Regions from separate parts of the Homo sapiens genome. Here all the other regions are linked to region 2. Evidence: promoter capture Hi-C in 16 types of primary human blood cells and fetal thymus (Javierre and others, 2016). All regions are on one chromosome and are shown on one strand. Each heading gives the region's core, a stretch centred on a gene start or on the middle of the fragment in contact. The rest is flanking DNA. Distances are from core to core; before and after follow the strand shown.

Region 1 (3,204 bases), core at 9-2,508, 240 kb after region 2:
CATTTAACTATCACAACAGTGTGATAGTTAGGATAATTGTTCAACAAAAATTCACTCCCCTCTGTCTCTCCCTAGGGGCGTACGCTTCTCTCTCCCATTGACCAGCTTTGGCCAATAGGACTTCCCCTTTAATTCTCCTCTTTGCCATCAGAACATGCCTTATGTAGCCGGTGGCCCAAAGAAGATGAAAGACAAATGGAGAAGACCTGTGTTTAATCCACAGCTCAGAGCCAAGCCTAGCAAGCCCCACCTAGATAAGCCAAACCCAAGCCTCCTCCTCCCCAGCCTCTCTCCAGATGCATGAATGAAAAAAACAATAGTTGTTGTTGATGTTACTAAGTCTGGGGGTGGTTTGTTCTATAGCAATAACTGACTAAGACCCACGGGTACTACGAGAACTCCCTGTTTACATATTTAAAAAACTGAGGCACGGGGAGATTCAGTAACTGACATGTGTTCACAAAGCAAGTTAGCGACAGCAAAAATTTGAACCCAACCAGTCTGGTTCCAGCACCTATCATCATACAATAGGGGTGGGGAATCTTAAAGAACAAATCCCAAAAGCTTGTTAACATAACAAACCAAAAGAGGCAAATAACAGCTTCGTTTATGTCCAAAGTCAACAACAGATAGCACCTCCAAGCCAGAACCTGAACATGTTGGGAAAATACCAAGATTGACATGAGCTGAAAGAAGAGGTTTCATTCTCAGTAGAGCTTCAAGGACTCTTCCCAGAGAAGGGGCACAGTTCCACAGAGAGGAGTTCAGAGAGCAGCAGGGCCAGCGCCAGTGGTCATTAACAGTTGTGGAACATGATGAAGTTCATGGCCACCCTCTGGTAAGATGTCACTCATGGTATGTGTCCCCATCCAGCCTCCTGAGGAGGAGAGAAGGAGACAATGGGTCAGGGGAAAAGGAGAGCAAGAAAAGGAGGTAGTTTACATATGAGAGATAGAAGGAAGCTGTCTACCCTGCACTGCGGAATTCCTTTATTAAAAGAACTTTGGTTTGAGCGGGGTGGCTCATGCCTATAATCCCAGCAGTTCAAGAGGCGGAGGTGGGAGGATAGCCTGAGCCCAGGAGTTTGAGACCAGCCTGGGCAACATGGCAAAACTCTGTCTCTACAAAAAAAAAAAAAAAAAAAAAATTAAAAATGAGCCGAGCGTGGTGGCATGTGCCTGTAGTTCCAGCTAGTTGGTAGGTTGAGAAGGGAGGATCCACTTGACACTGGAAGGTTGAGGCTGCAGTGAGCCATGACCTCGCCACTGCACTCCAGTCTGGGAGACAAAGCAAGATTCTGTCTCAAAAAAAGAAAAAAAGAAACCCAACTTCATGAATATCACGTTGTGAGTCCCCTGTGTTTATTTCAGTGTCCTTGATGAGCCAATAGAGTAATCAAGGCACAGAAGAGGGATGTGGCTTACACCAGATAAAATAATACTGAGTAATTTTCTGAGTCAATAGGAATCCAGATCTCTCCAGAGTCCTGGACCAAGCATAGTTTGAGGATGCCATTTGACATCTGAATGTGAGCACTAGAAAGGCCCTTTGGCTTCCTGGGGTCCAAGTTCTGAGAGATGGGGAGATGAGGAGACCCAGAAGGGCCAATGACTGGTCAAAGCCACATGCAAAGCCCACCAGGTTACTCTACGGATTGGAGATATCTGTAGCGATATCTCTTAAAATTTCTATGCCCTCTTGTCTCCCTCGTCACCCCTATGGTTCTCCCACCCTTTCCTCTAACACCCTGAAAAACTTCTCCTGAACCCTAAATAGAGGGCTTCTTGTTCATTTCTTTCTCCTCCTTTCTTTTTGATTCTATATCCCTAAGTTCTTCCAAAAACCTAGTCAAGAATCAAGAAAACCTGATTAGATGACAGCAGGAAAGCAAAGGCCAGGAACACCCATTCATGAATAAATTTGGCTTGCTCTTACCCAAAGAATAAGCTTCAGTTTATAGCCTCTCCTTTTAGTTCACCTAATGTTCCGTCCTCATTCTCTCCTCCCAATACACAGCTTCGGGGTGATTCTACCATAAAGTGAACCAGGCAATTGCTTATGCCCCAAAACCCCACTCATCCACAATTAACACTCCTCAGGCTTGAGTCACGATGGCAGAAGGATGTATTAGTTCCCACATACACACTTCTACTTTACCCAAATAAGTGTGTTTGTGTGAAGGCTACACCACAAATGTGCATATGCAGCTGGGCATCCTTTCAAGGGAAACATGGTGCTCAGGGATGTTTTATCTAGAGAATCCATTGAACTTGACATTGTCAGAAATTTATTTAGGACAAATGCAAACTAGCAGGAACTGTGTAAAATATTCAGCACACAACATGAGTTGGACACAATCAGGTACCCCTGCCGCACCCTTGAGAATCTGGCTTGTGGATGCTCTTCCAACACTGGGACCGTTTGACCACAGGTAAATTCAGCTCATAGAGGTCATCATTGCCTGAGCCAAGCCTGTCACACAAAGTGGTCTGTCTGAACTGGCTCTCAAAACTCACTAACCAGACTGTGCTTCCAGTTGATATGGCATTTTGTAGGCAGCATAGATCAATTGGAAAAGTGAATTATTCCCGGTTAGTGACTAATAATAAGATAATAACATTATAACCACCTCCCAAAAAATGTGTAGGAGCTGAAGAAAATGTAGCAAGAGCAGAAAAACTGAATTAAGTTATGCAAAAAAAATCAAGAGTGGGTGACTTTGCGAGAAGGCAAAGAGCAGTTAATGTGGCTTCAGAATTAAATTACTCCTCTGTTATAGATGAATTTAGCACCACAAAATGTAGGTAAATGTATTTAAATGATCATAGAGCTTATAAATCCAATAAATCATTATGATCTTACTGAGATGGCTTGGTTCACTTTTTTTTTGAACCTAAAAACACCTCATAACAGCCTGCAGTGAGATCTGGGGCCTGCCGCTGTGCCCAAACAGGTTTCATCCTTGTCCACTGTGATCCTTTCTGGTTCTAGCTCAGAGACAGCACTGGCCAGCCTCTCTGTCTGAACATCTCTCTCAGATGTCTGTGCAGGTCTCAGCTCCTTGGAGGGGCCTTCTCTGATCACTCACCCAAAAGAGGACACCACCTCTTCACTCTCAGTCTCACCTTCTCCCACGACCAGTCTTTCTCTCTCCCATAACCTTGTTTTGTATCTTTTGTATCTTTCATAGCCCTTCCTACTTTA
Region 2 (3,286 bases), core at 173-2,672:
GCCAGCTGCCTCTGTTTGAAAAGGGCCATCCTGCGCGCTGAGATCAGAATTCTTTGATTACTTCGTTTGTATTAAAATGTCCCTTTTTACCAGCCTGGCCAACATGGTGAAACCCTATCTCTACTAAAAATACAAAAATTAGCTGCGCGTGGTGGCACACACCTGTAATCCCAGCTACTCGGGATGCTGAGGCACGAGAATTGCTTGAACCTGGGAGGGGGAGGTTGTGGTGAGCTGAGATCATGCCACTGCACTCCAGCCTGGGCAACAGAGTGAGACTCTGTCTCAAAAAACAAAAAATAAAATAAAGTAAAATAAAATAAAATAAAATAAAATAAAATGTCTTTTTTTTAAAGTAGAAAATGATGTTGATAGTAAATGATATTTTCTTTTTTATTTAAAAATAAAGTTGTATTTTTCTTTCTGTTTTTAAAAATTTTTTACTCATCAATATAATTGAAAACTGTCTAGAAACCACATCTGTAGAGGTAGGGAAACAGAGAAGTAAGTTGTAATCAAGAACAACAAGGTCTCCAATCTGAGCTTTGTAGAACAAACTCCAGCATGGGGAAGAAGGCAGGAACTCAGTTGTCAGAGGCCACACAGGGTGGCCCAGCTCTCAGAAGCAAGGGTGGGCCCAGGGATGAGGACAGAGGTTCAAGGAAGTATAGGCACAACTGTGACCCTGTGAACCCCTCCTTCCCCGGGTCAGGGCTGGTCCTGGAGCTGAGGATGGAGCTGAGCCTCCAGCCGGGCAGTGGGGGAGGGTGTCTCAGTCACAGAAAGAGGAAGACCCAGGAACAGGAGGCAGACAGGTCACCACTGAGAACAAGAGAGGCCTGGACAGGCAGATTCTGCAAGTGTGGCTCAAGGCATGCAGCTGCCTCTATTCCCCATTTTTGGCTCAGATGACCCCTTCCCATAAGCAACCATGTGTGTGGGCATTTCTCTGGCCTTAGCAGAACCAGTGGCCTAGGGCAAGGCCTCTTACAAGAGACAAAGTCACTGGGAGTAGGGGATAGGGGGCTGGGGGGTGGCCAAAGAGTCACATTCTGGCACGTGGAGCTTGAGGTATCTCGTCTCTGGAACATACAAGGAAAGAGGTTCTATAGGTCATTGAATTCATAGCTCTTAGGTTTGGGGGAAGAACACTTACTTAGGAAAACCTTTAGGTAAAACCTGAGAGAGCCTGCAAACTTGAAAGCAGAGCACGTAGACCGGGATGAGAAGAGGAGCCCTGGAGACCCCTGAGGACACTGGTGCCTAAGGGCCTGGCTGAGGTGCTCGGGAGGCCAGGAGGGGAACAGAGAAGGGAAAGTCAGAGCGGGAAGGAGAAAGCAGAGTGTGGTGGGAGGCATAAAAATGGAGAGACTTTTAAGGCTCTAGGAGTGGCCATGGTGCTGGTGTTGTGTCTGAGAGGTCAAGGCAGGGGTGAATCCATCTGGTTATGTGATGTGGAGCTCCTCTGTGATGCTGGCGGAAGACCATTCTAAAGCCAGGTCATAATAAATAGAGAGAGGAGTGAATAGGAAATGGGAATATGAAGACAGCTTTTTGGAAAAGCTTGATTAGAAAGAGGAGAAAGAGATGGTATGGAAGCCTAAGGTGGATACTTGATTGGGGTGAGGGAAGGGGGAGTTTTTTTTTTTAAGATGAAAGACAGTTGGTTATGTTTTCAGGTCCTAGGAAACATACCAGAAATTAACGAGATACAAGAAAAACAGGGAGTCTATTAATGGGGTGAGGAATGTGAGAGGGATAGACGCTGGCTCATACTTGGTGGCAGTGTAGGAAAGTTGAGAAACAGTGACTGGGAAACAGGGATTCTCTGAAGCTGGGTTTATTAATTCCAAATTGCCAAGTGTCTGTTGTTGGGGACATTTCTGACATTGTGAATGTGTGATCATGTGATCCCAGGTTACATCCAATCTAACCAGCAAACAAATGTCTGTCATAAGAACAAATGATTGACTGCTGCCTAACAAACCACCTCCCAAGCTTAATGGCTGAAAACAACAACCATTTATTATTTGTCACCATTCTGTGGGTTGGCTAGGCTCACCTGGGTGGTTCTTCTGCTCCACAAAGCAGGTGAGGTCATTCATGTGGCTGCATTTAGCTGGGAGCTTGACGAGGGTGGAGTGAGAGAGGGCTTCACTGGCTTATTCCCCTCCACATGGCTTCCCATCCTCCAGGGTTTCTGTCTCCACATGGCCTCTACAGTAGGAGAGCCTGGACTGCTTTACACCATGGCTGACTTCTAAGAGAGCAAAAGAAGCTGCAAGGCCTCTTAAGGCCTAGTCTCAGAAATCATATAGCTTCACCCCCACTGCCTTCTACTGGCCAAAGGAAGTCACAAGGAGGCCCAGACCCAAGGGGAGGGGAAAGAGATTCCACATCCTTATAGGAGGAGCTGCAAAGTCAGAAGGTGGAGGAGCATGCAGGATGAGAGGGACTGTGGTCACCAAGTTTGGAAACACCTGAGCAGAGTACATCTCAGGAGTCACTGTTCTAGCTGAAACTTCATTCTCAAACATAGGGAAGCATTTCAGATGCAATTTGCAGTAAACATATCTTATGCTTTTTAAACTGCTAAGTGAATGTGAATTAGATGGAAAAAATCATTTTAAATGAACATTATAATTATGCTTTTATTACATAAATGTGCATTTGTGGTAAAATTACAAACAGTGTTTTACAAAAAGGAAAAACGGAAGTCAATTGAAATTCCACTCCCTAAATGACATGCGCAGCAGGCATATAACCCCGCAGGCTCTTGGACTTACAAACAGAAACTCAATCTGTAATTCTTTCAGCCAGAAATCCCTTTTCTGACAAATTAATTCTTAAAAGATATATAGTCCTCTTTGAATAATCATTGAAAATCATTAAGTGGAACTTGAGACGTTATGGGAAAAGGAAAAGTTGTTGAGTTTAAACCTTATTTTCTGGATGTCTAGTATATGTCTGGGAGTATGGTAAGCTTTGAGGATTCAAAACTGCACAAAACCTACCTCACCTCTGCTCTCAAGCTGCTTATGGGACAATAGGAGAGACAGACACACAAAAAGAGAATTTCAGTTAATTGCGGTGGGAGCTACAGCAGAGGGGTGCACTGAATGCCAGAGGAGAGGAAAGGGAAGAGGAAGGGGAGGGAATAGGAAGGGGAGGGAAGAGGAAGGGGAGGGACGAGGAGGCAAGAGGAGAGAGAGAGCAAGTTTCTTGCCTGCACCTAAGGAGAGGGTCAATACACCAGGGCAAGAGGGAAAAAGGGAAAACATGAAGG
Region 3 (3,206 bases), core at 598-3,097, 250 kb before region 2:
GCGTTTTAGCTCCTGCTTTCAGGAAGAAAAGGGGAGGTCAGAGCCCCCTTTCTGCACCTGCTGTTTCTGAAGTGCCTTTAGTGCAGAGAAATCAATATGCCAGAGTGGTGTATTCTGGGGTGGCGTGTCCTGAACCCCTTCAGTGGCCTGGCTCAGACGGGAGCCTGTGGATGGAGAGCAGTGGACGGGTTCCAGGCTGGAGCAGTAAGGCTCGGTGCTGGGGAGGTGTGTGGCAGGGGGCACACTGATGAGCATTCACTCCTTTAACCTTCGCAAGAACCCCCAGGCCAGGCAGTCAGGTGTGTACAATCTACTGAAGGAGAAAACCGAAGTTTAAGTTCAGTGCACGGCAGGGGTAGAGCTGGGGCTCAAACTCCCCTGTCCAGTCTTCAGCCCCTATACCCCAACCTGCAGGAATAAGTGAATGAATACATGAGGCTGGGTACGCCTGGGGCACAGAGGAGCGAGTGAAATCAGCAGAGGAGGAGGCCCGCGCAGGCGGCAGGAATCAAGGATGCAGTGCCAGGTGGGCTGCGGCGAGAGAGCTTTATTCTGAGGGCAGTGAGAAGCCGTGGGTAGGGGTGGGTGGTCAGTGCCATGGAAAACCCACCCTTGACCCTGAGGACACGCTCCCAGGAGCCCACCCACACCTCATGAACTTGTACGGACAAGGACAATGGGAGGCTGAGACCTGGAGCAAGGGCCTTGTCCCGGGCACAAGGCAAAGGGACGGGCAGCGTTAAGAGACCAGGCCGGCTCCGGCTGGAAGTGGGTGTGTCCTACTGTGTGCTGCCGCATGCATGGTGGCACCTCTGGATGCATTCAACTTCCAGTTCTCTGCAGTGCCAGGTACCTAGTGACAAAGGAGGTCCAGCCCTGGTCCCAGGGAATGGCCCAGTTTGGAAAGCAGCCTAGGTACAGCCTGGCACATAGTAGGTGCTCAGCCAAGACGTGTGTCCTTTTCCCTTCCGTCTCTGACTGTTCCTTTCCTTATCACTCCTGTGCTGAGGCAGGAATCAGCACAGGCAGGGGCACGGCATCCCAAGACATCTGGGCCTGTGCTCAGGACTGTACGGCAGAGTCTCTTAGACCAAAGATCAGTAAATATGGCCCACGGGGCAAATCCCACCCACTGCCTGTTTTTGTACAGCCTAGGAGCTGAGAATGGTTTTTACGGATGAACATTTGCAATCGGTTTGATGAAACACTAACTCTAAACTCCAATTAAGCAAAAGGTGATGTCTGTAAAAAGAACTCTATTCTTCTCATGAGTGGACCTACATTACAAAATACTGGCCTCAATTATTATTATTCTATTTTGAGTTTTGTCAGTTACAAAATAGTAAAAATCTGTTTTCTCACTGCACAATGATTTTGCCCTCAAAGCCTAAAATATTGGTTCTCTGTTCTGTCCTTCCACTCCTCACCCTGCCTGGGGCTCTCCAGATGTAACCAATCCCAGGACTAATGACCCCCACCCGGCCTCCCCAGTGGTCCGTGCTGCGGCCGGTGTGCCCGACTGCAGGGCTGGACTGTGGACTCCCGGGCTGGCCAGCCCCACACCCAGCCTTGCCTTGGGACACAGCTGCTGCCCCGGGGGACCTGTGCCGCAGTGGCCTCACGAGCTGCTCTGGCTACTGGCTGGCAGCCTCGGCTCCCCTGAGCACTGAGCACATTCTTCTCTCCAACTCCCTGCAGGAGCCAAGGCCAGCGGGCGTGGGTGGCTGAAATCTCCCCGGTAACAGGGTCTGCGCCCCTCCTGCTCCCTCTCCGGGCCTCCTCCCTTAACCTGCACCCCGCCCCCACCCCCCACACCTGCTCTCCGGCCCTCAGCCCCTCCCTGCTTACTCCCTCCTTCACGGGCTCCATGTCACCATCTGTGGCACAGTCCCTCTCTGTCACTCTCCCTGCCACCCCCTCATTCTCCTTCCTCCCTCCTGCCTCTCTCTGCATCTCTCCCTCTCACCCGTGTCTCCTCTCCTCTCTTTCCTTCTCGTCTTCTCCCTGTCACGCATCTCTCATCACTCCCCCTCATTCTGCCTTTCCTCCTACTCACGGTCTCCTCTCCCTCTCCCTCTCTCTCTCTCCCCCTCCCTCTTTCTCTCTCTCTCTCTTTCTCCACCTCCTCCCGACCCCCTTTCCCCTCTATTTCTATTGGCTTCTGTGTCCCTTGCTCCCCTCTTCTCTTCCTCACCCTGGGAAGCTTCTCCCCCCTATCCTTGCCCCTGCCCCCCCAGGATGTGTCCTGGAGATGGGGGGTGACGTACCAGGCTCTGGTTGGGAAGTCAGGGCCGGAGACCAGATGGGAGAGGCTCTGTGGACAGCCGTGGCCGAGGGCCTGGGAGGGAACCTGAGCCCGCAAGCGGTCTAGAAGTGGGTGCCTTGTGGGGACCCTAGTTAGGAGTGCCCTGGGGGCACCTGGGGACTGGGCAGGGAGAGGGGACAGCAGAATGATAACCAGCCTGGCGGCAAGGAGGGAAGCCCTCACCCCATGGGCAGGTAAGGAGGCTGGGGCCCGGATGATGTCCCGAAGGGTGGGGTCCTGGAAGCCCATCCTCTGCCCAGGATGAACTTGGGAGGCTGGGGCTGGGGAGGCAGAGGGTGGGGACTCCCAGGGAGGCAGGAGGGAGGCCTTCCTGTGACCTCCCGGTCGGCTGCAGGGGCAGGGGCGTTAGTCTCAGAATCTCGTGCCATGATTCTAGGATCTCGGAATCACAGAATCGCAGGCTGTCAGGGCTGGAGGGAGCCAGATGTATCATGTCGTTGGCTTCCCCAGCTCACGTGGCAGCTCTCCTGAGCTCCCCCTCCATACCCGGCACTGTGCTTGGCACGCCTCCGTTTAATCTCTGCAAACAACCCTGGGAGGTGGGTCCGCTTGTCTTCCATATGACGAAACTGAGGTGCAGCGGGGAGAAGTGACTTGCCCGAGGTCACACAGCAATTTGGCATCATCGCTGTGCAGCAGAGCCCAAGCCCCCAGCGCTGGGCCTGTAGGGTGTGCTCCTGGGATCAGGCCCCAGGCCTGGGGTGCCAGTGAGTCAGTCGGCACTGGCAAGCATAAGCCAGGTGTCTTTGGGGGGAAGGCCGAAGCATGTAGAGGACAAGCAGAGAGCCAGGGGCCATCGCCCTGCACTATTCAGGACTGTCATGGCCTTTGATCCTTCTCAGCCTGAGGCCTTCAGAGGAGCCAGTGTGGCCAGGAGGTA
Region 4 (3,230 bases), core at 416-2,915, 130 kb after region 2:
ATTGCAGCTCCCATCATTCCCATGTGTTGTGTGAGAGACCAGTGAGAGATAATTGAATCATGGGGTCGCATCTTTCCCCTGCTATTCTCATGATAGTGAATAAGTCTCACGAGATCTGATGGTTTTGTAAAGGGGAGTTTCCCTGCACAAGTCCTCTTCTCTTGTCTGCCTCCATATGAGATGTGCCTTTCACCTTCTGACATGATTCTGAGGGCTCCCAGCCATGTGGAACTGTGAGTCCAATAAACCTCTTTCTTTTGTAAATTGTCCAGTCTCAGGTATGTCTTTATCAGCAGTGTGAAAATGGACTAATACAGGCCCCATCACTCATTTCTGCAGAGTAAGGGCCCTGAGGCCCAAATATCACTCCCAGGATTCCATTGTTAAGCCCCAATTCCACCATTAAATTCCACTTGGATCACAGATGCTGCACATACACAACCATGGCCAAGCCTCTCAATTTTATGTTTATTGAACATGCAGAACAGCAGACATCACTAAAAAGGCGTCTCAGTCATGCCCAGTGTTCCAGTAAATTGGAGGTAGAAATTATGCCAATCAGAAAAAATACTGCCTTTTTGGCAATCACCAAATCACTAAAGCTTTATGTGTGTAGTCGTACTATTGGAGCATCTGCAGATGTCACACATGTAAATGCAACATGGTGGTCAATTAGAAAATCAACTCAATGTTTCTTTTAACAGATTCCTTAAGCTTCCTACATAAATCTCACTCCAAATTAACATTAGCTTTCCAAAGAGAAAAGAGCATTCTGTGACCATTTCCACTGCAATTTAATTCTTTTTTAGTTCTCAGAATGATGGCAAGGCCATCAGGAGTGAGGATGATGGCTCAGCATTTTTGGGGCCTCCTGAATATATCAAAGGGAGAAGCTAGAGGTTAAAACAGCCCTCAAAAGAGGAGCCTGTCATGTCAAAGGAATGTGCAGGAAGGCTGAGCAGAATTAATTTCCTCCTGGTATAAAATATTCCTTCTGATCATAAATAAATCTGCTCAGAAGTAACTCCAGCAAACCACGAAACTGTTTCGAGGGGGCTAAGTGGCAAATCACAGCTTTGATGGTGACAAAAGAGAAAGAAAGTGAGATCACTAGATTCAACTTTGTCCTTTCCTTGCATTCTTCAAAAGCAAAATCCCCAGCCTCCCTCCTCATCTCCCCCCACCCAAGAACTGCACATTTCTCATGGCCTAATATGAACAAAACGGTTTATGACCAGATGAGCAGACAGCCAGATAACTCTAAGGAAGAAAGAGGGCAGAAAGGCTAAGATGAAGACACAGGGTGGAGAAACTCTGCCTGGCTCCAGCTGCCTCTCTCACGTCCACCATCCTGCATCTGGCAACAGGAGTTCCCCAGTTGTCACGGGGGATGCTCCAGCTGAAAGGGTCCAGGAGCTATAGGACAATAGGACGTTACAGGCCTCTTCTTCCCACCTTGGAGAGAAGGCTCAATGAAAGAATCTTGTTTGCCTTTTATTTTTCCATTGTGTATTTCTTTTTTTTTTTTTTTTTTTTTGAGACAGAGTCTCGCCCGGTCACCCAGGCTAGAGTGCAGTGGCACAATCTCGGCTCACTGCAACCTCCACCTCCTGGGTACAAGCGATTCTCCTGCCTCAGCCTCCCGAGTAGCTGGGATTACAGGCTCATGCCACCATGCCCAGCTAATTTTTGTATTTTTAGTACAGATGGGGTTTCACCATGTTGACCAGGCTGGTCTTGAACTCCTGACCTCAGATAATCTGCCCACTTCAGCGTCCCAAAGGGCTGGGATTACAGGGGTGATCCACAGTGCATTTCTTGAATGTATTTGGCCATGGAATGCTCTATTCATCAAACATCTGTAACGGTCTGTTATAATGCAATTATTTCCATCTCAGTTTTAGCTGAGGGTCTATGATAAGAGCTGCCACCTGTTCTCACATTCCAAAGTGAGATTCCAGTCCCTGAAACTTGCGTGATTGTTTGTTACTGCAGCACAACTGAGTCCATGCGGACTGATACAGATGAGCACCAGACACGAGCCTTGCCCATCAGACACTGTTGCCTGCATATTTCAAACGGGACATTTTTTTCTTAAAGGGCCAGATAGCAAACAGGTTTTGTGGGCCATGGCTCATTTGGCCACAGACTATAGTTTGCTAAGCCCTGTTCTAGACCCCTCATGCTGGACTTGCAAAGGAGAAGGTAAAAAACCAGTTTCATGGCTCTTGGCTTTTCATGCATTGGAAGGTATAAAAGGGTTAAAATTGCAGAGGTAGAGAAGTCGAAGTATGCAGGTTGTTCTTTAGAGAGAGCTCTTGGGGTACTATGATCCCCAACCCTAAAGAGAAACTGTTAGGTGTAGTTCAATGGTCTATTACCATGGAAAACCCACCCTAAACATCAATCTTCAATGGTAGATTATCTGTAAGGACTCTTCAGGTTGGTAGCCGGATAGTCGCTTTGCTGCTGCTGGTGCCATCTGGGGTCACTCATATGACTGCACTCAGCTAGGATTTTGGCTGCCACTGGAAGCTCAAGGTGGTGACACGTCCCCCTTTCCCACCACAGGTTCCCCTCACACCAGGCTCCAGCTAGGCCAGGGGCAAAGCTTTACCTCTGAACAGAGTTTGGGGTTTTGATTATTAAACAAGACTGGACATGCTAGTTATCTAACTGACAGATATGTGTGGCCACCAGCACGGAAAGCTTTTTATTACCTGAGTAAAAAGATTTCCTCCAGGACTAGGGAAAGGACTAGACCTACAACATCAGAGCCAGGGCAGGGGGAGGTACATTACTTTCTGGTTATCCCCATTCAGTTGATGTGACACTTATCACATTTCCCAAGCAATGTCTCTGGAATAGAAATAGGTACATATTTAAGTAACCATATGGAAATAGGTACATATTTAAGTACGCATGTGTACCTACTTCCATTCCAGAGACATTGCTGGGAAAAGACGCTCAGGGAAAATTAGGATGTGCTGGAGCCTCTAACACCAGCAGACGCTGGTTCTCATGGTGGTGTGTGAGCTCTCATTTCTTGCTCCATCTATGAGACTCTACTCCCACACCCTGTGGACAAGGTACAAGTCCACATACCTGTACGACGATATGGTGGCTCATTGCACAGGATTTGAGGTCAAAAAAATCAATGTTCTGGCCAGGCTTGATTGCTGGCGCCTGTAATCCCAGCACTTTGGGAGGATCGCTTGAGCTCGAGTTCA

What was found. The method cuts DNA at HindIII sites, captures the fragments that hold promoters and counts their contacts. A CHiCAGO score of 5 or more calls a contact.
Region 1: a contact is called between a fragment that was not itself captured here and the fragment with the promoter of LL22NC01-81G9.3 in region 2, in 1 of 17 cell types (endothelial precursors). The highest score is 6.4, in endothelial precursors.
Region 3: the fragment with the promoter of SSTR3 here is called in contact with the fragment with the promoter of LL22NC01-81G9.3 in region 2 in 3 of 17 cell types (erythroblasts, neutrophils and monocytes); the score reaches 5.9 in erythroblasts.
Region 4: a contact is called between a fragment that was not itself captured here and the fragment with the promoter of LL22NC01-81G9.3 in region 2, in 2 of 17 cell types (endothelial precursors and monocytes). The highest score is 8.3, in endothelial precursors.

What each region holds. Positions count from the first base shown.
Region 1 is chr22:36,718,589-36,721,792 of GRCh38, reverse strand. The region is part of intron 1 of CACNG2-DT (CACNG2 divergent transcript); the gene reads right to left. Among named protein-coding and RNA genes, the nearest start is that of CACNG2-DT, 16 kb to the right of the region's middle. The HindIII fragment of the contact is 1,383 bases long and covers 567-1,949 here.
Region 2 is chr22:36,963,384-36,966,669 of GRCh38, reverse strand. LL22NC01-81G9.3 (a long non-coding RNA gene) reads right to left here and starts at 1,422. Exons shown (of 4, transcript NR_038954.1): 1 at 1,157-1,422; 2 at 163-280. The HindIII fragment of the contact is 1,620 bases long and covers 1-1,565 here.
Region 3 is chr22:37,211,118-37,214,323 of GRCh38, reverse strand. SSTR3 (somatostatin receptor 3) reads left to right here and starts at 1,847. Exons shown (of 2, transcript NM_001051.5): 1 at 1,847-2,499. RefSeq lists an enhancer at 2,029-3,008. The HindIII fragment of the contact is 10,151 bases long and covers 1-2,205 here.
Region 4 is chr22:36,834,878-36,838,107 of GRCh38, reverse strand. No RefSeq gene overlaps it. Among named protein-coding and RNA genes, the nearest start is that of PVALB, 19 kb to the right of the region's middle. The HindIII fragment of the contact is 1,897 bases long and covers 717-2,613 here.